Linked DNA regions of Homo sapiens: region 1 is linked to region 2. Evidence: promoter capture Hi-C in human tissues and cell types (Jung and others, 2019). All regions are on one chromosome and are shown on one strand. The core of a region is centred on a gene start or on the middle of the fragment in contact, and the rest is flanking DNA. Distances in the headings are between cores, read along the strand shown.

Region 1 (6,744 bases), core at 2,861-5,360, 66 kb after region 2:
TTTAAGGTCAGTATGAAGCTGGGCTGGAGAGGACAAGGAGAAATAAAAAAATTGGTTTTCTTTATCATTTTAGGAGAGGGCTCATTATTTGGGTATTTTTATATACCTGACATTCCCATGGTCACAACAGAGCAGTTATTAGGGGAGAAAATGCCACAAATGGAAAAATAAAATTTGTCAGTATATGGAATCATGTTGCTTGCCATGAACATCTCAAGGTAAGTTCTTTCATGCAATCTCTTATGAGTAAAACTATGTTGATTTTCTAAGTGTATTTTTTTTATCTAGTCCATTCCTATGTAGTTCAAGAAAGTGATGACTATTAGACAATAATTTGGAATCTTACTGACACTGTAGCCTGGTCAGTATTTTTTAAAGGGTTCCACTGTGACACATTGCTGAAACTTGTTAACCTGCCTGTATTTCATTTCTCTGTTGATTTTACTGACTCTGGGTTGGCTGTGAGATATTAACAAGCAAAACTTTTCCAAAAATTAGCTTATCTTATGAGACTCGAAAAGCCAGTCTATTGATGGAAAGGCCTATCAGAATTTATTAAAAGTTTAGGTTTATAGGGTTTTTTAAAGAAAGGAATATGCTTTTATTATCACTTCCAGCCTATTGCTGGAAGTAGGCTGGTAAAAAGATATTGTCTAACAGGAAGCCTCAGGGAGCCCTATCAGATACCAACAGGTGACACTCACATGTCCCCAGCACTGAGCTCATGTTACAGCATTCTCTCCTCTGGTCTTTTCAGTAACCCTGTGGTGTAGGTACTGTGATTATTGCCCCATGCAGGTAAAGAAACTGAGGCACAGACAGTTGAAGTTATACAAGTTCACACAGAAAAGACATGGAGGAGCTGGGATCCATGCTCAGTGTTGGAAAGCTGGAGTTCTGGCTTTTTAACTATTTTGCTGCACAATGCCCAGAAAGACACTAGGAGCTGCAAACTCACGTCCCTTAGGAAGGGTTCATGACATTGGTACCACAAGCCTATTTTAGGCTATACTGCCTGCTCCTTGACCCTAAGGTTTTTAAAATACAGGTGGGGGATGGGGGAGAAACGCTCCCAAAGAAAGCAACCAAGGCAATTACATGCTAAACACATAATCACATCAACTCTATGTGAATAAATCAAATCCTTGCTTCTAGGCTTTCTGTCACTGTTTTTGTCTTAAGTTCTACAATTTGTTCTCTCAATCTGCTGAGCACTGCTCTTTCTTATCGAGAAGACAAACTTCTGCCCAGTACCCAGTCAAGTGATCACAAGAAGCAGGTTAATGGCGGTCTCTGAAGAAGTGAGAGCATCTGTTTTTAGAAGTCAACCCAGAGGTATCTTGGTTGGAAAGAAAGATACAAACTGTAAAAAGAAAACTGCTGGGGTTATCAGATCCATTTAGTGTGTCACTGTCAGCTTTTTAAAAAATAAAAAAGATATAATACAAAGTGAAAATTGTTTAATGAACTTTTAATTTCAATTACGAATTGCACATTAAAATGTGTATACCGGGTTATATGGTAAAAATGTATTTTTTTGTATAACTTGTGGTCAATAACATTTGAAAGACATTGTTCTTAAAAAGCAAATCATTGCCCCCAAGTTGGGACATCTCTGGTCTTTTTATCCCAGTGGGGTTCTTCACCTTGTGAGTCTGTGTAAATCACACCAAATAGAAGATGTACGGAACACCTGCAGTAATAGGGGTCAGCGGAGCTACAGGAGGCCCCCTAGAGACTGTGATAGACTCTTTATGATGCCACCTTTTCTAATAAAGACTTGAGTCTAGAAAGTTCTGAAGGCCTGAAAGATATTTATTCGACAACAGGAATGTGGGATAAAAGGTGTCAGGCAAGTCAAGCTTTGTGAGTGCCTCTGAATCTGGTTTGCTGATGACATTCATATTATCCACACTGACGCGGCTGCCCCCGCCGATGGGCCATAACCTGGTGCACAGGAATCCGCACACTAATGTTTCTCACCATCAGCTCCCAGGTACCCCCCTAGTCAACAGCTGCTTTGGCCCGAGACTTCTCATCGGCTGAACCAATCAAAGTCCATCACAGCAGCTCCTCCGATGCTTCCTCCACCTCCACAGTATTTTTTCCCCACCAAGTTGGGTTCCTTCTTCCAAATTCTTCCCAAACTCCACATCTTCACCAAACCTTCCTTGAGCAGCCCAGCCTCATGCCAATCCCTGCCTCATCATCCTTCCATCATGTCTTTCTCATCCTCACAGCCTCCACATATCCCCACAGTCAGTGCTCATGGGATGTTTGTGCCTGTGTTTGCCCATCCAGCTGTTTGCATCTTTGTGCCTCCCCGCACCTTTCTGGGCTTGGACCACATGCCCAGGGTATGGTCAGGCCCTACCAGGGAAAGGAGCACAACTGGCATGTGTTCACAGCCCCCAAAGGCTGCACACCATTTGGCAGGTGCTCAGATGCAGCCTGGCTACTCCCAATGTGCCTGGCTACTCCCATCTGCCAAGAAGGTAGATAGATATTCTAGAGAGATATTCAGAGAGATGAAAAATCCTTGGAAGATGGAGTCTGTGCTAAGCCAGGCTGTTTTGAGAAGCTAGTGTCTGCATCACATACATTCAGACTTAAAGTTCTTCTCTAGAGGTATTCTTTGACTTAAACCACATAGCTGCTTCTATCGCCTTGACAGCTAGGCTGAACCACCCACCTTAGCAGGTGCTTCTTTGCTGGCCCGTTGCTACCACCTATTGGCTCCTGGAGGAAACAAGAATGAGCCACATGTCTGAGGATAAGTGCTTCCGAGTTCCCAAAAGGCTTCCAGGGGCTGGAAAATGATCACATGAGAAGCCACCATGTAGGGAATCGATGCCTGCAGAATGCTTTTGCCATCTTGGCTCTGTCTTCCTGCCCCTCATCAAAGTTGGCTCAGGGAGTTCAAATATAGAACCAACATTTGTTTTAAAAACATAAAGGCAGGCAAGCCCTACCCAATAAAAATTGACATAGAGAGATGAACTACCCCACATTCAGAGAAAAACTACTATTCCAGGCCCACCTTCCCAAGCACCTTGCTTCTGCAGAATTTTTATCCATGAGGCATCTGTTAGGTTACCTGCCTTTGCCAGGGCCTAAAATCCCACCCCTTAGCAAAGCAAAAACGTCATCTAGATCTTTCTAAGATGAAAGACAATCCTGTCTCTTCACATAGTATCAGCATAAGGATGGCCACTGAAGCAGAATCTCACATGATAAACTAAGCTATCCTTGGAAAACACAAGTATTTCCCAAAGTAGAATGTAGACTGTGTCACAACCCACCAAAAGTGGAAATTTTTGCATTCAAATTTCCTGGCTATGAGCTCAGACCACCGCCACTACCAAACAAAATCTGGCTAGAATGGACTGCAGGGAGTGAAGTTGATGCTGATTTTCTCAGGAAGCCAGGGTTTAAAGTTGGGCTTTTCCTGGTTCCAATTCGTTGTCTGCCATTGCTCCAGGAAGAATATAGCTCAATTGTTCCTAATTTTGAAAAACATCAGAGCTGACCATTTGCCACAAGAAGTTAATTTTCAGTGAAAAGAGAGGCAAACTCTTTTTTTTTTTTTTTTTTTTTTTTTTTTTTTGATACGGAGTCTCGCTCTGTCGCCCAGGCTGGAGTGCAGTGGTGGGATCTTGGCTCACTGCAAGCTCCGGAGAGGCAAACTCTTACAGTTATTTATTGCTGCATAAAAAACCACCTCAAAATGTAGCAGCTTGAAACAATTTATTATTAAACTAAAACAAGCTATTAAAGCTACACCATGTCAGCTGTGGCCACACCTGTGTTCATCTGGGTGGGACTAGAGCCTCCCAGACAGCTTCTGTCAGGTATCTGCACCTGCATGTGCTGCTGGGTGCCCTCTTCCTCCACATATTGACTCATCCCCCAGGGCCTCTTCCCATGGCATCACTCTACCAGGATAGCATGGATGTTCTTATAGCACAGCAGCCCACTTCCAGGAGGGCCAACACAGAAACTCCCAGATCTCTCAACCACTAGGCCTGGAATTGACACAGTGTCACTTCTGCTTCATTCTACTGATCAAAGCAAGTCACAGGCTCGCCCAGATTCAGGGAGCAGGAAACAGATTCCACCTATCAACAGGAAGAATGATAAAAGCCTATGTGGAGAGGAGGACTGTAGGCACCATCTCTAAGACAAGCTAACACAGACCTTAACAGAAGAGAGAACAAGATAGGCCTCATTATTCCACTGTCCATATGGAGGATCAAAGTCTTTATCTGCACAATGGCATTAACAATGCTACTTGGAGCATTGTTCAGATTCAAGGAGATAATGACAGTTAATGCTGGGCACATGGCACATGCTTGTGGCTCTCCAAGTGTAGCCAATTCCCATGAAACGTTGGGCTCCACCAGGAGCCTGTGAAGACAAAACCTGAGAGGAGGTGCCATTTTGGAAGCATGCAGGGTTCAAGGCTGGCTCCAAACCACACCCTGCTGTGAGTTTGCCAGGGAATGTTCATGCTTTGGTTGACTTTTCTCACCTTCGTTTTCTTCTCCGACCCATCTAAAAAGGCTCCAAATTTATTTCTTTTGAAATCAAAGATTCAGAGGAGACTAGTTTCTCACTTGCAATAAGGATGCTACCATACCGAAGGGCACCTCCAGACCAGCACACAGCAGGCCAGTGAGGCCATGCACACAGGACGTGGAGCCTGCTGGCCCTCCGACAGGCAGCTCCACTTTTATCCATTTTAAGCATTAGGGTCATTCAATATAAAATCTGGTGTGTGGTTGGAACCCCTGGTTTATTACAAAGTGCTACCTTGGCTAGCTGAATGTTAGCAGACTGGAACACCAGATAGCCAAGTTTTGATGGGGACGAGAGAGATTTATACTTTAAGAGAAGTGGGCAAAGAGAAGATGCATGATTGAGGGAAGAGGGCATGCATAAAATGAGCATCTTGGGAGGCAGCATTCAAGAGACGAAGCAGAGTATGAGTATGTAACGGATGCATACAAAAGAGCCTTAACAAAGGAGGAAATCCTGCCTTCGCAGCAACATGAAGGAACCTGGAGGACACCACGCTAAGTGAAATAAGCCAGATACAGAAGGAAAATTACTGCAAGATACCACTTTCATGAGGAATCTAAAATAATTAAACTCAGAAGCAAAGAGTAGAGTGATGGTTGCCAGGATCTGAGGGGAGGGGAAAAGAGAAAGGTATTAGTCAAAGGGCACAAGGTTTTGGTTATAAAGATGAGTAAGTCCTAAAGAGTTACTGTACATCAGAGTGTCCATAGCCAGCAATACTGTATTGTGTACTTAAAAATTCGTTAAGAGGATAGATCTTGTGTTATGTGTTCTTATCACAAAAACAAATAAATAAAAAGGGGACAAGGACAATTTGGGAGGTGATAGATATGGTTATGGCCTTGATTGTGGTGATGGTTTCACCTTGCATACTTATCTCCACACATACCAAGTTGCATGCATTAAATATGTACAACCTTGTACCCATGAAAATCAAAAATAAAAACTTTTAATAACATATATATAGATTATTGTATGTTAATCATCCCTCAATAAAGTGTTGTTTGTTTGGGTTTTTTAAGAGAGAGATGAAGCAGAGTTGGACAGTGCTGTGACCTCTGAGCCAGTCTCTGCCAGGCCTGCCACATCTCCCACCGGGAACTGTCCCTGTGCTTATTCTTGGCTTCCGGAATCACTGCATCAGGGCATTCTCCCTGGAAGTGCTGGGGAGTTACCCCTAGTGACACACTCAGCCACAGACAGGCAGGAGTGGCGGTGAATACCGCAGCTTTCCGAGCCCGCCTTCTTATCTCTGGGGGTGGAGGAAGAATCCCCTAGTTCATCCCCTTGGTCCTCACCTCTGCTACTTGTCCTCTTGACTACCGGTTTTAACCCATCCTAGCCACTCTTTCCATAGAGAGGGAGACAAAAATGAATGGAATTATGCAATGCTCTTGTAACTGTAAAGGGCAGAAGCCAAACTTATATTAGCTCAAAGAAATAGGAGATATATTGCTCACTTAACTAAAAATTCCAGCAGTCTTCTAGCTTCAGGCACCAGGAGCTCAAATGATGCCATCTCCATCTCTCAGTTCTGCTTTCTTAGGGGGGTTGTATCCTTAGAGGGCTGAGAATGATGTCTGCAGTGCCAGGATTAGTGGCCTCAGTGCAAGGAGGACTATTTTTCCTTGACGGTTCTAGTATAAGTCTAGGATGGAGTTCTCACGAATCTGGCCTGATGATGGGCCAACCCTAAATCTATCATGGTGTAGAGCAGTAAGGATGCTCTGGTTGGCCAACACCAACTTGCGTATGCACTGCAGGATTTAGGCAGCATTGGTTCCACATAAAACACATAGAGGAAAGTGATTTTCTTTTTATTATTATTATTATACTTTAAGTTCTAGCGTACATGTACACAACGTGAAGGTTTGCTACACAAGTATACATGTGCCATGTTGGTTTGCTGCACCCATCAACTCATTATTTACATTAGATATATCTCATAATGCTATCCCTCCCCCCTCCCCCCACACCTGTGTGTGATGTTCCACTCCCTGTGTCCATGTGTTCTCATTGTTCAACTCCCGCTTATGAGTGAGAACATGCGGTGTTTGGTTTTCTGTCCTTGTGATATTTTGCTGAGAATGATGGTTTCCACCTTCATCCATGTCCCTGCAAAGGACATGAACTCTTCCTTTTTTATGGTGGCATAGTATTCCA
Region 2 (7,039 bases), core at 3,209-5,708:
TTCCACAGAAAGAGAGAACCCCCCCACCCGCCCACCACCACCACCACCCACAACCACAGAAAGCTCCTGAGCCTGGAGTAAAGGACACTGATTCACATGGCCTCTACTTTCCCACAGTGTGTATTTAAGAAAAAGAATCCAAACGCCTTTTTTTCTCTCTAAGGAACCTGGAAAAAACAGATGGGCAGTGGGGCAGAGACGGGAAGGGTCTGGGGATGGAGGTTAGGTGCCACTAGCAAGTCCAACCCCACCTAAAGGGCTTAGGTGCCAGAACAGGTCTACAGAAAGGTGAGCCTGGAGGGTGCCTGCTAGACGTGTCTCTGGATGGAGAAACAGAAACCCAGAAAGAAGCAGGAACTTGGTCGAAGGTGCCAGAACCGGATCCAAACCCACGCGTCCTGTGTGCCAGAAGGACCTCCTTTCACCTCTCCCATCATAAGTGGAGGGGACAGTCTTGGGGCCAGTCTCTCTCAACCTCGGGTACCTTTATAGGGACACCTGTCAGAACTAATCTGCTCCAAGAAGCTACATGCTCAAAGGTTAACCCAGAAGAAGGGTTCATGCCCAGGACCCACCTCTTCCCCACCCGCTCTCCCTTTTCCCAGGCTCACACCCGCTCCCCAGTACCCTTCCTAACCCTTCCAGCATCCACCCGCCCCACTCCCTGCGCTCCTCACCTTCTCGGCTGGGATGCTTGAAGGTCATTGCTGCCGCGAGTTCCCCGCCATGCACAGCTACGCCGGCCCCGGGGGGCGCCAGAGGAGGACCTTGCGCAGGCGGCCACGGCGGGCCCGGGGCGAGGTAGCCGCCGCCCGGGGCGCTGTACACGCCGTGCTGGTTGGAGGCCGGGTAGGCGCAGGCGGGGAGAAAGCCGCCCACGGCAGAGAGGGTGGAGGCCGACTGTGGGGATAGAGAGGGACCGTCAGCAGCAGAAAATCCTGCCTTCTCTAGCCCACGCCATCACTGAGACGGGGGTTTTCGTCCATTATCGCTCCCCCACGTCCTGTGCCCATCCATTATCCCCATGCGAGGCCTGGCCTCTAAATTTCCTAGTCAGGACTCTTTGGCAAAGTGATTTCTAAGAATTCACTCAAACTGTTACAAATAACGATGTGAAGGGGTCATGGTATTCATATCGGGATTTAGAGAAAGAAGGCCCTTGACTGTGGATTCGTCATCTGGAGTTCCAGCTTTTTTTAGCTAAGCTATCTTGGCAAAGGCAAGTCAACCCCTCTAAAGTCAGACTCTCCCAAACTAGTACGCTTGAGGAAAGGACAGAAAGGACGCTTGCTAGCCGGCTGCCAGATACAACCATCTCTCTGCCTGGAAATTTTTTCTTTTCTTTCTCTCTCTTTTTCCCCACTTGCCCAAACCTTCTGCTTCCCTACTTAAGGTCACGGCCTCACGTGCCTCCTGGTTACCTGAGTGTATTTAATGTCTGCCTCTAAGGCAGGTTTCTCTAGCCCATTCACTGCGGGGGTGGCGGGGAAGGCCGTGCGGTTCACGCCGGCCCAGTCTTCCATCTTGGGAGAGTAAGCGGTGCCTTCGCTCCCAGCCAGGGCCCCTGCAGGAGAGAGAGGACGGATTAAAAGGTGCCTCCGAATCTGCCCTGGGCACACGTGTGGCCAACCACCCAATTTGTATCTGAAGACACGGCCAGGGGTCCCACAAAATTTGTAGGTGGCCTGACACTCCACCAGGAGGCGGCAGGGACTGGAATGTTCACCACTCCGGGTGGGGCGGAGGAAAGGCAGCCAGGCCTGCTGCCCGGTCCTCCTAGCCTTCAACCGGTTTCCCACGAACGGGAGGCTGCTGCTGAGTCAAAGCCTGGGCAGACTCGGCCAAAGCGGCCGCTCCATTGTCCAGACACGGCTCCCAGAAACTTCCGAGTTCAAAGCTACAGCAACCTCATGAAAATTGTATTGATTTCTCAACATCTGCACAAGCCTCTGGAGGGCAGGGAGACGATTCTACGAGAACTGCCTCTGGAAACGCCCAGGGTTTCCCAAAAGAAGCGTCAACATTGTTGTCCCCACGGGTCAGATAGAAGCACACAGCTGCTCCCCGGGCCCTTGTGTGTGCCAGGAACCAAGGGAAACCTCCAGATCTGCGTGCAGGCTTGGTGGGGTCACCTCCAGACCCCTGCCATTCCATGGGAAGCTTTAGCCTTAGGCTGGGTTAGAGCCACCAGGAGACACAAAGCCAGAGCAGGGCCACAGAGGCGCTGCTGCTGCTGGAGCTGAGCACTCACAGTTTCTTTCCAGCCACCACTCTTTCCTCCTAGGCTATGGTGAATTTTGCTTCTTGCCCTCCTCCTGAGTCTGATCACCTAAGAGTGTGCCATCCCCTGGCCAGCTGCTGGCAGCTGGGGAGAGCGCAAAGAAATCCAGACCCGATTCTGGCTGGTTTCTTTCCCAGCCAGGCATCAAAGTTGTTCCAAACCTCCCGCCTTCCCCATCTTCCTCGTCACCCACTTGACCTATAGTGTGTTAAGCTTTAGTTGCAGATAAATGACAAATCCTTGTGAAGGTGGCTGCAGCCCCACCAGCCATCACCGCAAACTCCAGGACCTGCAAGGCCACAGGACCTTAGAGATGTAGGCCACTCAATCGACCACAAGATCCCTTTTCCTTTAACTCAGAAGAGCCACTGGGCCTGGGAGTGGGGGACAGAACCCTTGGGAAATCGTGAAGGATTCTGAGAGCTAAAGAAAGGGTCTCAAAATTGAGCGGGTTTTTTTCCCCCTTAGATTTGGCAACAGGGGCTTGCATACTTTTTGCAAGAATGAAAAAGCACAATTTCAGGCCTCCAAATTTGTGGTCGGCGATTGCTCTTCTATTTGGGAAATATTTTCCATATTTGTCATAAAAAGTTCAAGATGTCCGAGGTCTCTTACAAAAGGCCCAGGACCCCCAGCCTCCCTGGCCAGTGTGGAGCCCTCCCCTGAGCCAGAACCGGTCCCGGGAGGAGAGCGAGTGTGAGTCCTCTCCTGCAAGCCTGCCCGCCCCAGGTTCTGCCCCTTAATAGAAGGCTACGGAGGCCGCCACAACTGACCTGTTTGCTCCATAAACGTCCGGATGCCCAGGATGTTGCTGACCGAGTGTGCCGAGGGCCATGAGCGCGGGATGCTGACGTGGCCCGCCGTGCCCGGGACCCCGGGGTGGCTGCCCATCTTGGCGCCCGTGGGCGACACGGGACTGGGGTAGGGGTACTGGTAGATGTGGTTGTAGGGCAGCGTAGGCTGCGACGGCGGCTGCTTACTTGCCTCGTACGGTCCGGGCTGCGCCAGGCTGCCGATCTTGTTGCGCAGGATGCGGCTGATGGAGCTCACCGAAGGCACATTGTACTTGTCACAGACGCCGTCGGCCAGCAGCCGGTCGCGGATCTCCCAGGCAAAGATGCCAGGGTCTCCTTGCTTGTAGTCCCGGATGTGCTTGACCACGTTGGGAGTGGTGACGCGGGGCTTGCTCCCCCCGATGGCCCCGGGCAGAATGGAGCCGGTCTCGTTGTAGCGCGCCAGGATCTTGCTCACGCAGCCGTGGGATACGCGGAGCTGCCGACTGATGTCACAGGGTCGGATGCCCAGCTGCGCCAGCTCCACAATGCGCAAGCGGATGGCGTTGGGCAGGGGGCGGCCGTTGACGAACACACCGCCCAGCTGGTTCACCTCGCCATACGTCTGCTCTGCGGATGCGCCAGACAAGAGTGAGCCGGAGGGGGAGAAAACACCCGGCGGGTTAGCCAAGGGTCCCCACGCGGAGCGAGGGACTGCACCCAGGCGCACTTCCAAAGGTGACCTGTGGGTCCCCAGACAGCTCGGAGTCCAAGGGCAAACCGCCTGGGTCTGGCTTGGAGTGGGCAAGGGCGCAGAGGAGCCGCGGAGTGGAGCGCGGCGCATTGTAGCCCTCCGTGCCCTTTCGCGACTTTTAGCGCGTCTACTTGGAACACTCCCTTCCCAGACTTGCTCAACTGCCCCCTGAAGGCTGGGGATCAGAGGAGAATGCAGCTTCTCCAGGACCCAGGACTGGGTCGCCCAGGGAAAGCGGACGAGAGGGAAGGGAGGCAGGCGGACCCGACCCACCTCATCAGCCCTCCCGAGCCCTGCCTGTCGCCCGCCCCTTACCCATAGCGAGCGGGCCGGCCAGCTGCCTGGCGCCGGGGTGGCCGGGGTGGCCGGGGCTGGGCCCGGCGCAGTCCGGGAGAGCTTGGGCGCCGCCGCCGCCGCGTGAGAGGCATAGAGGGAGGGCGCCCGAGAGCCGAGAGCCGCGGCGGCCCAGCCGCGGGCTGGAGACGCGCTGTGCGCGGCAGCGGAGCGCGCTGCCGCCCGCTCCAGGGCCTGCCGCCGCCGCTGCTGCCCCCTCCCAGGACACTCTCCACGCCCGCGACCCCAGGCCCAGGGTGAACTTCATCCGATTGGGAGAAATTCGTCTGACCGGGAGGCTGCAGCGTGCGGGAATCAATTTGACGTGTCCTCCACGTCAATCTCGGCAGTCACGCCGGAGACGCGCGAGTTGGCAGCTCATTGGTTCCCGTCACTGCGCCCCAGCGCCCCCCTCCCCGCCCTGAAACTCTACCCCCTCCTTCTATCCTCCCCCCTCGGCCCTCTTCCACCACCCCCCCGGAACCCACCCCTCTACACACACACACACACACACACACACACACACACACACACACACGTCCCAACCCCAGCTGGGCCTGGGACCTTCCACTGCTCTGAGCCCCTTTCAGCCCCCTTCCTCCTCTAGCTTTGGGAATGAGGGGGAAGTCATCTCAAATTGATTAGTGTGTTAGTACTAGTACTCGTTTTCGTTTTGGTTTTAGTTTTATTTCCGCCACCATTAATAATAAGATAGAGAATAAAAGTTTATCGTGGAAAGGTGTTTCGGGTGTGGCTCTCTCTACCTCCCCACTCCCGGGGCAGCGGCCGGGGAAGGGTGGGATCAGTACCCCAGCTGGCTGGGAGTGTCAAGGTGAGCGTCCAGCGCGGTGCAGGGCTCCTGTCAGGAAGACACAAGGCGGAACTTGTGTCCCATTCCTGGCCAGGTCCTCAATCCTTCTCTCAGGAAATCTTCACGTTTAATAGCCAACCACTCTTGGAATAGTGGGGGTGATTTCGGTGATGCGAGAGGGGCACGGTCCAAATCCTGTCTCCTACAGCCAGGCCCAGCCACCAGAACTCATCCCTCTCCAAGCAGTGACAGAAGGGGCAGGAGGCAAAAGGATCCCGATCTGCTGCTAAGGGGCGCATAGATCCGGCGCCCTCCTGTCCCCAAGCGCGACCGGCGGGAGGCCAAATGCATAGCTCCAGCTCTAGGTCTGAAGGACAAGTTCCTTTCTCCCTGGCGGTGGAATCTCGCACCACTCTATCCCAGGTGGCCTGGCCTCGTCTTTCTCCCAGCACCTGCAGCTTCAGGAAGTCTCTGTTAAACCACAGAATGGTCATTTCTCCTTCATTTAAATGAGGTTTTGCGCAGCCCTGAATTATTCACCCCTGAGATTGAACATCAACAATTTCTCTGTTTCTACCCTGCACCAAAGCAGTTCTGAACTCCCCAACCTGTGCAGCTAACTGTGTCCGGGAGCCATGCGGTGAGGGCCAAGAGGAGGAAACTCGTGGTTTTGAACATGAACTGATTTGAGGGGGTCAGGATCTGAGAGCTCTGAGGTTGAGCCCAGTAAGCACCAAAGGCATTGGGCTGAATGTGCTAGACCAGGAAGAGGGCATAGGGGAGAGAGTAGGAACAGCCGAGGTTTCTGAGACTCCCAGCGCTCCCCTGGAGGAGAGAACCCTCTTCCCCTCCCTCCTGCCCACCCCAAGGGTCTAGCTCTCCTTAGCCACCCAGAGTTGAGTATGGCGCCAGCGCGGTGACAGTGGCTGAGGAGCACATGGACCCTATCAGCCCACCCTGGGGAGCCATGGCTGCGGAGGCCCCGACCCCTTTGCCTCCGCTGTAGGGCCAGAGAGCATCCCTGGCTCCTAATCCACCTGTCTAAATGTATCTGTCAGGAGTGACTGGCTCATAATTCCTGGACTCTCTAGAGAGAGCACGCGGTGGGGCCACAGACAAGAATTACTCCTGGAAAAAGAAAAATCAGGTTTAAAAGAAGTGAACTCTTCCTCTCCGGCGGCATGAACACAGTACAGTCTCTGGCTCTGGGAGGTCCTGGAGACCTGGAGGAGGTTTGAGGGTCAGTGCACTGGCAGGAGGGTGCGAGAGTGGGAGCAGGGGAAGCTATGTAGAAGATTAGGCCTGTCCATGACAGCGTAGGTTTGGAGTAAGGAACAGGGAAAGGGAATGGTTTGGATTAAAGTGGGCACGCCTAAGCCAGGAGTTCCGCGAAGGCAGCGAAGAGAGGACTAAGCACGCACAGTATGCTCGGGGCTCCGGGGGTGCGGGGAGTGGGGACGCACCCTGCCCAGTGCTCTCCATTGCGGAATCTGCTAGCTTCGTCGGGCGCGAGATACCAAGAAAGGTTGATTTCCAGACCTTGGAGTCTCTGAGATAAAGGAACGCCACATCCCTGCCTCAGTCCAGTGGATACTCGTGATCCGGAAAAGCAGCTAAAGCCGCTTCTTCCCCCCAGTAGGTGAGGAGTCAACAGGCACACTCTAAAGACGAGGAAATAAAGCCGGTCGTGACACCGTGAGAGCTGGTTCGCCCAACTACCCTTTCAGGGGAACGTCCACCCCACCTCTGCTGCCGAGCTTGGAAAAGTGGCAAGGAGTCGCAGTCCAGGACAAAACTCCGCCCCCGTCCCCGTGAAGGCCGCCCGTGGCTGGGGGCTACTGTAGAGGGGTGAGTCTGGGGATTGCGCACGATGAGAGGGGGTGGTTCTCCCCGGTAGCAGAGTCCGCGAGCCTTCGTCTCAATCCTGGCCCCTTTCCCGCAGCCAGCTGTGCGCGATCGGGAGCACACAGCCCTCGCTGCAGCCTTCTGCACGGTCGGGCATAGGGAAAACCTTACAGTTTGTCGCCCCCTGTCGTCCCCCGGCCGGGTATCGCGGGTTCCCGAGCTGCAGGCTAGGCTTGGTGAGA

The links. Contacts are between HindIII fragments. The study calls those that stand out against the background at their distance.
Region 1: a contact is called between a fragment that was not itself captured here and the fragment with the promoter of PAX1 in region 2, in 2 of the 25 tissues and cell types used here (H1 embryonic stem cells and thymus).

What each region holds. Positions count from the first base shown.
Region 1 is chr20:21,636,739-21,643,482 of GRCh38, reverse strand. All of the region lies in intron 1 of LINC01726 (long intergenic non-protein coding RNA 1726), which reads left to right. Among named protein-coding and RNA genes, the nearest start is that of LINC01726, 63 kb to the left of the region's middle. The HindIII fragment of the contact is 8,238 bases long and covers 1-6,744 here.
Region 2 is chr20:21,703,083-21,710,121 of GRCh38, reverse strand. PAX1 (paired box 1) reads right to left here and starts at 4,458. Exons shown (of 5, transcript NM_001257096.2): 1 at 4,124-4,458; 2 at 3,055-3,684; 3 at 1,422-1,564; 4 at 678-900. The coding sequence starts at 4,409. It overlaps LINC01726 (long intergenic non-protein coding RNA 1726), which reads left to right and starts at 6,537. Exons shown (of 5, transcript NR_109878.1): 1 at 6,537-6,800. RefSeq lists an enhancer at 6,615-7,039. The HindIII fragment of the contact is 9,805 bases long and covers 2,328-7,039 here.